Linked DNA regions of Homo sapiens: all the other regions are linked to region 1. The links are contacts of gene promoters, found by promoter capture Hi-C in human tissues and cell types (Jung and others, 2019). All regions are on one chromosome and are shown on one strand. Each heading gives the region's core, a stretch centred on a gene start or on the middle of the fragment in contact. The rest is flanking DNA. Distances are from core to core; before and after follow the strand shown. Region 1 holds the start of VN1R2 (vomeronasal 1 receptor 2). Region 2 overlaps ZNF765-ZNF761 (ZNF765-ZNF761 readthrough). Region 3 overlaps ZNF160 (zinc finger protein 160).

What was found. The method cuts DNA at HindIII sites, captures the fragments that hold promoters and counts their contacts. A contact is called where the count stands out against the background at its distance.
Region 2: a contact is called between a fragment that was not itself captured here and the fragment with the promoter of VN1R2 in region 1, in 2 of the 25 tissues and cell types used here (mesenchymal stem cells and mesendoderm cells).
Region 3: a contact is called between a fragment that was not itself captured here and the fragment with the promoter of VN1R2 in region 1, in 2 of the 25 tissues and cell types used here (hippocampus and lymphoblastoid cells).

The regions. Positions count from the first base shown.
Region 1 is chr19:53,256,780-53,259,640 of GRCh38, forward strand. VN1R2 (vomeronasal 1 receptor 2) reads left to right here and starts at 1,513. Exons shown (of 1, transcript NM_173856.2): 1 at 1,513-2,823. The coding sequence starts at 1,597. The coding sequence ends at 2,784. The HindIII fragment of the contact is 12,643 bases long and covers 1-2,861 here.
Region 2 is chr19:53,408,730-53,411,644 of GRCh38, forward strand. All of the region lies in intron 3 of ZNF765-ZNF761 (ZNF765-ZNF761 readthrough), which reads left to right. ZNF765 (zinc finger protein 765) reads left to right here. Exons shown (of 4, transcript NM_001040185.3): 4 at 1-2,915. The coding sequence ends at 398. It also overlaps the pseudogene LOC124904793. Among named protein-coding and RNA genes, the nearest start is that of ZNF765-ZNF761, 15 kb to the left of the region's middle. The HindIII fragment of the contact is 3,821 bases long and covers 1-2,915 here.
Region 3 is chr19:53,072,905-53,075,809 of GRCh38, forward strand. ZNF160 (zinc finger protein 160) reads right to left here. Exons shown (of 6, transcript NM_001322131.2): 4 at 2,153-2,279; 5 at 1,236-1,364. Among named protein-coding and RNA genes, the nearest start is that of ZNF160, 29 kb to the right of the region's middle. The HindIII fragment of the contact is 9,128 bases long and covers 1-2,905 here.

The DNA of each region.
Region 1 (2,861 bases), core at 263-2,762:
ATTTTAGTGCACACTCTACCTAATGTTGTACATTAATTTCCGTGATGGGTGCCGTAGTATTTTTAGTCTTTGCAGACAGTGAAATGAGTGTTTCTGCTGGTATCTTAACATCTACTCACATTAAATACATTGGGTCATATGAAATTATTTAGTGCCTATTATAACTTATCAAGACCTATGAATATTCACTCATAAGTTATATTGATATGTAGAATAAATACTTTGACAAAAATAGGAAATTATCAAACCAAATTTATAAAGTGAACATGACAAATATTTATACATATGTAGGTGTGCGTGTATGTATGTGTGTGTGTATATGTATATATATGTGTGTATAGATATATAAAGGACACAACTAGGCAACTATTATAGCGTAGTAGTGAACACCAATGTTACTGCAACCAGGCTACTCACGTTCAAATCTTCACTCTTCTGGTATTTAAATGAGTCACCTAATCTCCTTGTGCTTAAACTCTTTTAGAGTTGGTGAAAGGAGAATAATATGAATTCCTACCTCATGGAGTTGTGAATATTAAATGTCAGAATAGGTACAGCATTTATAAAAGTCACTCATACATTGTAGGTGCTGTAAAAAGAAATACACGAAATGGGAAATTTGTTAACAATATATCTCTCTATATATTTCACTTTTAATATTCAGGGGGAAGAAATCGTCATAAGTGAAAGGTTATTTTCCATGAAAATGTGGCCCACAACTCGTGTTGCCATGCAGAACCTTCTGCTTACTCAATATTGAGTGCTGGAAAATGACAGAATGGCCTCTGTGGACCTGAAAATTGGAATGATCTTCCTATTTGTGGGCAGCAAGCCACCCAGCTGCCGAGGCAAGAGACCGAGGGCACGAGCTGTTCCAGCATAATAAAATATATAAAACAACAAGAGTTATATTAGATCTAGATCATAGACATGATTATATATGAATATCATTAATCATTAGTTGGTAGCAATTACTCTTATTCCAATATTATAATAATCCTCGCTCTATAATCATAACCTAGGAAAAGCCAGGCCATACAGAGATAGGAGCTGAGGAGACATAGTGAAAAGTGACCAGAAGACAAGAGCGCGAGCCTTCTGTTACGCCCAGACAGGGCCACCAGAGGGCTCCTTGGTCTAGGGGTAACGCCAGCGTGTGGGAAGACGCCCGTTGCCAAGTGGACCGTGGTCTAGCGGTAGCGTTAGTGTCAGGGAAAAACACCCGCTATTTAGCAGACCGGGAAAGGGAGTCTCCCTTTCCCTGGGGGAGTTTAGAGAAGACTCTACTCCTCCACCTCTTGTGGAGGGCCTGACTCAGTACCACCTGCAGTTATCCAGAGGCCTGTCTCCCTGTGATGCTGTGCTTCAGTGGTCACGCTCCTGGTCTGCCTTCATGTTCCATCTTGTACACCTGGCTCTGCCTTCTAGATAGCAGTAGTAAAATTAGTGAAAGTACTAAAAGTCTCTGATATGCAAAAATAATGGCATAAGCTGTCTCTCTCTCTCCCTCTCTCTCTCTCTGCCTTGGCTGCCAGGCAGGGAAGGGCCCCCTGTCCAGTGGACACGTGACCCACGTGACCTTACCTATCATTGGAGATGACTCACACTCTTTACCCTACCCCTTTTGCTTTGTATCCAATAAATATCAGCGCAGCCTGGCATTTGGGGCCACTACCAGTCTCCTGCTTTGTATCCAATAAATATCAGTGCAGCCTGGCATTCGGGGCCACTACCGGTCTCCGCGTCTTGGTGGTAGTGGTCCCCCAGACACAGCTGTCTTTTCTTTCATCTCTTTGTCTTGTGTCTTTATTTCTACACTCTCTTGTCTCTGCACACGGAGAGAAACCCACCAAACCTGTGGGGCTGGACCCTACACTATTCCAGGTAGTTGTTGGAATCCTGGGGAATTTTTCACTCTTATATTATTATATGTTCCTTTACTTTAGGGGATACAAGCCAAGATCCACAGATTTGATTCTCAGGCACCTGACTGTAGCTGACTCCTTGGTTATCCTATCTAAAAGAATCCCAGAGACCATGGCAACTTTTGGGTTGAAACATTTTGACAATTATTTTGGATGCAAATTTCTTTTGTATGCACACAGGGTAGGCAGGGGTGTGTCCATTGGAAGCACCTGCCTCTTGAGTGTCTTCCAGGTGATCACCATCAACCCTAGGAACTCCAGGTGGGCAGAGATGAAAGTAAAAGCCCCGACATACATTGGTCTCTCCAATATCCTGTGCTGGGCCTTCCACATGCTGGTAAATGCCATTTTTCCTATTTATACAACTGGCAAATGGAGCAACAACAACATCACAAAGAAAGGAGATTTGGGATATTGTTCTGCCCCACTTAGTGATGAAGTCACAAAGTCAGTATATGCAGCATTGACATCCTTCCATGATGTTTTGTGTCTGGGGCTCATGCTCTGGGCCAGCAGCTCCATCGTTTTGGTCTTGTACAGGCACAAACAGCAGGTACAACACATCTGTAGGAACAATCTCTACCCCAACTCTTCTCCTGGGAACAGAGCCATCCAAAGCATCCTTGCATTGGTGAGCACCTTTGCATTATGTTACGCCCTTTCCTTCATCACCTACGTTTATTTAGCTCTCTTCGATAATTCCAGTTGGTGGCTAGTGAACACTGCTGCACTAATCATTGCCTGTTTTCCAACTATTAGCCCTTTTGTTCTCATGTGCCGTGACCCCAGCAGATCCAGGCTCTGCAGTATCTGCTGCAGAAGAAATAGACGATTCTTTCATGATTTCAGGAAAATGTGAATTGGCTGTCTTGGTTTATGTTCGGCCACTGATGCACTCAGACCTCAAGGGATCTTAAGAATGATTATCAGCCAATT
Region 2 (2,915 bases), core at 416-2,915, 150 kb after region 1:
TTAGTCACAAGTCATCTCTTACATACCATCGTAGACTTCATACTGAAGAGAAACCTTACAAGTGTAATGAGTGTGGCAAGACCTTCAATCAGCAGTTAACCCTTAACATTTGTAGACTTCATAGTGGAGAGAAACCTTACAAATGTGAAGAATGTGACAAAGCCTACAGTTTCAAATCAAACCTTGAAATACATCAGAAAATTCATACTGAAGAGAATCCTTACAAGTGTAATGAGTGTGGCAAGACCTTCAGCCGGACGTCATCCCTTACATACCATCATAGACTTCATACTGGACAGAAACCTTACAAATGTGAAGATTGTGATGAAGCTTTCAGTTTCAAATCAAACCTTGAAAGACATAGGAGAATTTATACTGGAGAGAAACTACACGTGTAATGAGTGTGGTAAGACCTTCAATCAGGAGTTAACCCTTACATGCCATCGTAGGCTTCATAGTGGAGAGAAACCTTACAAATATGAAGAACTTGACAAAGCTTACAATTTCAAATCAAACCTTGAAATACATCAGAAAATTCGTACTGAAGAGAATCTTACAAGTGTAATGAGTGTGGCAAGACCTTGAGTCATACGTCATCTTTTGTGTACCATCATAAACTTCATAGTGGAGAGACCTTACAAATGTGAAGAATGTGAAGAAGCTTTCTGTTTCAAATCCAACCTTGAAAGACATAGGAGAATTCACACTGGTGAGAAACCTTACAGGTGTAATGAGTGTGGCAAGACCTTCAGCCAGACCTCATCCCTTACATGCCATTGTAGACTTCGTACTGGAGAGAAACCTTACAAATGTGAAGAATTTGAGTTTTCCATTTCAAATCAAACCTTGAAAGACAAAGGAGAATTCATACTGGAGAGAAACCATACAAGTGTAATGAGTGTGGCAAGACCTTTAGTCAGAACTCATACCTTACACGCCATCGTAGACTTCATACTGGAGGATACCTTACAAATGTAATGAGTGTGGCAAGACCTTTAGTCAGAACTCATACCTTACATGCCATCATAGACTTCATACTGGAGAGATACCTTAAAAGTGTAGTGAGTGTGGCAAGACCTTTAGTCTGAAGTCATACCTTACGCACCATCGTAGACTTCATACTGGAGAGGTACCTTACAAGGATAATGAGTGTAGAAAAACCTTTCATGGGCAGTCAGCATTTTACAAATGTAATGATTGTCACCAAGTCTTGAGTAATGCTACAACTATTGCAAATCATTGGAGAATCCATAATGAAGAGAGATCCTACAAGTGTGATAAATGCAGAATAAATGCAGAAAATTTTTCAGACATCCTTCATACCTTTGCAGTTCATGGGTGAAGTCGTATTAGAAACCTTACAAATGTGAAGAATGTGATGAAGCTTTCAGATTCAAATCAAACCTTGATAGTCATAGAATTCATACTAGAGAGAAACCTTAGCAGTGTAATGAACGTGGCAAGGTTTTAAATCAAAAAGCAAAGCTTGCACATCATCATAGAATTCATACTGGAGATAAACGTTACAAATGTGAAGCATGTGACAAAGTTTACAGTCGCAAATCAAGCCTCCAAAGACAGGAGAATTCATACTGGAGAGAAAGCTTACATATGTGAAGAATGTCACCAAGTTTTCAGTCACACTCAAACCTTGAAAGACACAGGAGAATTCCTACTGGAGAGATAGCATAAAAATGTAAGAGTTTGTGACAAGGCTTTCAGGCATAATTCGCACCTGGCACAACATCCTAGAATTCACATTGGAGAGAAAGCTTACAAGTATAATGAATGTGACAGGTCTTTAGTGGGCAGTCAACACTTGTTTACCATCAGGCAATCCATGGTGTAGGGAAACTTTACTTATGTAATGATTGTCACAAAGTCTTCAGTTACACTACAACCATTGCGAATCATTGGAGAATCCATAATGAAGAGAGATCATACTAGTTTAATAAATTTGGCAAATTTTTCAGACATTGTTCATAACTTGCAGTTCATCGGCGAACTCGTACTGGAGAGAAACCTTACAAATGTCATGATTGTGACAAGGTCTCAGTCAAGCTTCATTCTATGCAAAACATAGGAGAATTCATACAGGAGAGAAACCTCACAAGTGTGATGATTGCGGCAAAGCCTTTAATTCACATTCACACCTCACTAGACATCAGAGAATGCATACTGGACAGAAATCTTATAAATGTCATCAGTGTGCCAAAGTCTTCAGTCTGAGCTCACTCCTTGCAGGATATCAGAAAATTCATTTTGGAGATAGTTGTTCCAAATACAATGTGTATAGCAAACCATCAAGCATTAATTGACACTAGAGTCAGTTCAGCATTGACTTGAGTTTGACTTAACATTGAGTTGAAGCCTTAATTGACATTAAAGTGTTTATGTTAAGAGGACTGGGCCAGGCACAGTGGCTCACACCTGTAATCTGAGCGCTTTGGGAGGCCAGCACCGGTAGATCACTTGAGTTCAGGAGTTTGAGGTCAGCCTGGCCAACAGACGTGAGCCATTTTCCCAGCCTGTTTTTTGTTTCTTTAACAAAAACTGATAGGGATTTTTTTTTTTTTTTTTGAGATGGAGTTTCACTCTTGTTGCCCAGGCTGGACTGCAATGGAGCGATCCCAGCTCACTACAACCTCCGCCTCCCAGGTTCAAGCAATTCTCCTGCCTCAGCCTCCAGAGTAGCTAGGATTACAGGCATGAGCCACCACGCCCAGCTAATTTTGTATTTTTAGTAGAGATGGGGTTTCTCCATGTTGGTTAGGCTGGTCTTGAACTCCCAGCCTCAGATGATCCACCCACCTCGGCCTCCCAAAGTGCTGGGATTACAGGCGTGAGCCACTGCGCCCAGCCCCAGTGATAAGGATTTTTATGGGTACCGTGTTGAATCTAAATCACATTGGGTT
Region 3 (2,905 bases), core at 406-2,905, 180 kb before region 1:
AGCATTTTTATTTAGAACCAACACAATAAGAACTGGAATATGATTTTTAAAAAAATTCTATATTGACAAATTATAGTTATATATATTTACAGGAAACAAACTGATATTCTGTTATAGGTATACAATATGGACTGATGGAAACAAGCCTATTACCATATAAGTCATCTCAAAAACCTATCATTTACTCCTAATGTTTTCACCCAGTGACCAACATCTCCCTATTCCCTCCAGTCCCCAACCTGTGGTAACCCACATTCTACTCTTTGCTGCTATTAGTTTTATTGGTTTAGATTCCAAATGTAAGTGACAACATGCAGTACTTGTATTTCTGTGCTGAAGCCTGGAAAAACAGAATACGCACCCCATGTAAGACTGAGGATCAATGACAGAAGGATTTTGTTAGGTGTCTTTACGGTTATGCTGAGAACAATCTTAGAAGATAGAACCCACTCGCTTATCACACACCCCCATGAAAGTGGCAAAAGCAGAATGGAAGAAATGGCCGAGGGACCTCGACAGGCGGAGACGGCTGGAGACTCTTCCATGAGGTTTGGGGCAGCAGATGCCAAGGAGCAGCAGCCAATGTTTCCATCTCCTGAGCAGGTCTTCCACGCACAGGAAATGGGGTGGAACATAAACAGGTCTAGACGTCAGGACTAAGGACTATGGAGGCTTCCCCTCTGACCCATATGGACTAAGAACTGAGCACCATATGGAATTAAATACAGAGGGAGAGACCAAGAAAGAAAGCAGTTTCTTCAGAAGGAACCATAGAGTTCAAATGACAGGGTGTTGTCCATCATGATAAAGACTTTGCCTCTATCTCTAAGGCAACTTATTTTCCCAAAGAACTCTCTCATCTGCAGAGAGTTTCCCACTTTATTTATTTATTTATTTTGAGACGGAGTTTTGTTCTGTCCACCCAGGCTGGAGTGCAGTGGCATGATCTTGGCTCACTGCAACCTCCACCTCCCGGGTTCAAGCAATTCTCTTGCCTCAGCCTCCTGAGTAGCTGGGACTACAGGCACACGCCACCATGCCCGGCTAATTTTTTTTTGTATTTTTAGTAGAGATAGGGTTTCACAATGTTGGTCAGGCTGGTCTCGAACTCCTGACCTCAAGTGATCTGCCCACCTTGGCCTCCCTAAGTGTTGAGATTACAGGCGTGAGCTACTGTGCCCCCTCCCACACTCTAGTTAATGAGTGGCCTTCTCTCTGCCCATCTGAGCTCTTACCTGTGACCACGCCTTTGACACATTCCGGCGTTCTTGGTTTTCTTGCTATTTTCACACAGCTCTTCACAGTCCAGGGCTCTTTCCCTTCCTCCAACATGGAGATAATATTCATATCAAAATGACACAGTCCTGTTTATAAAAAGAAAGGATCACAATGTGCCGGGGCTTTTCCAGAATCCCAGCCCTATGTTTACATGAGAGGACATTATATGTGGATCTAAGAAAACTTCAAAAATTCATCCACTGGGCCAGGCGCGGTGGCTCATGCCTGTAATCCCAGCATTTTGGGAAGCTGAGGTGGGTGGATCACAAGGTCAGGAGATGGAGATCATGATGGCTAACATGGTGAAACCCTGTCTCTACTAAAAACATAAAAAAAAATTATCCAGGTGTGGTGGCGGGCGCCTGTGGTCCCAGCTACTCGGGAGGCTAAGGCAGGAGAATGGCATGAACCTGGGAGGCAGAGCTTGCAGGGAGCCTAGATCACGCCACTGCACTCCAGCCCGGGCGACAGAGCGAGACTCCGCCTCAAAAAAAAAAAAAAAAAATCATCCACTGAATGCCTCCTTCTGAATACCCAGGAAACATGGTACATGCTGATAGAAGGCTCTATTCCACCAACAACTTAATCCAAAGCAGAGAGGTAGAAAACAGGAAATCTGACATTTCAAAAGTCTAACACAATGTATTATGCATACAAAAGCTCTGAAACCTCAAATGATGAAGTACAAAGGAGGCAGAACATCTGAGAAAGGGGAAGATTAAAGTCCAGGTTTCCCATGATTAAGCTTTCCATTTCAGAGTCAACAGGACTTCAATCTCAGTCAAGCAATGCAGGGGCTCTCCAGGGACTCGTAAGGGAAAATGCAACAATAGACAAGAACAGATCTTGACTTCTGGAAGAAAGTCATCCTCACCCAGAGAAACAAGGTTCCAGTAGTTCTCCAACATCACGTCCCTGTATAAGATCCTCTGAGCAGGGTCCAGGCATTTCCACTCCTCCTGAGAGAATTCTATGGCCACATCCCTAAATGTCAACCGTACCTAAAATGAAAAACACATTTCACCAAGTGGCTAAGGGGAGAGTTCAAAATTTCACATAAAAGGAGAAGAGGAGAAAAATGTGAGAATAGGTTAAATTGAAGTGGGTGAGCTGACAGATCCAGATTGTGACAATGTGACATACAGATTTGGTCTTCATCCCCCTCTCCTGACATAAGAGCTCACTTGAAATCAGTGGAGTGATAAGTATCTTTTTGTACATTAATGGGATAATTGGTGTCTGGAGCACCTAGGTAGCTTCAGGATGGAGGGCGGTCACCGGAACTAAGGCTCGGTGGGTGGTCACTGGAAAGGCTGAGGCTCGGTTAGACTAAGCCTCTGTCCTCTCGGGAGGACAGAGGGAATGAAAGTTCAGTTGATCACCAATGCCAATAATGGAAGCAAGGCCTCCATAATGGGGCCTCCATGAAAACTCAAAAAAGACAGAATACATGAGAGAATACATCCCAGCTCCTCACTCCTTTCCCATATCTCAACTAATAGATCACTTCCATCTAGATGTTCATCTGTGTGCTTTGTAGCATCTTCTATAATAAATGGGTAAATATAAGTGTTTCCCTGTGTTATGTGAGCCACTCAAGCAAACTAATCAATTTCAAGGAGGGGGT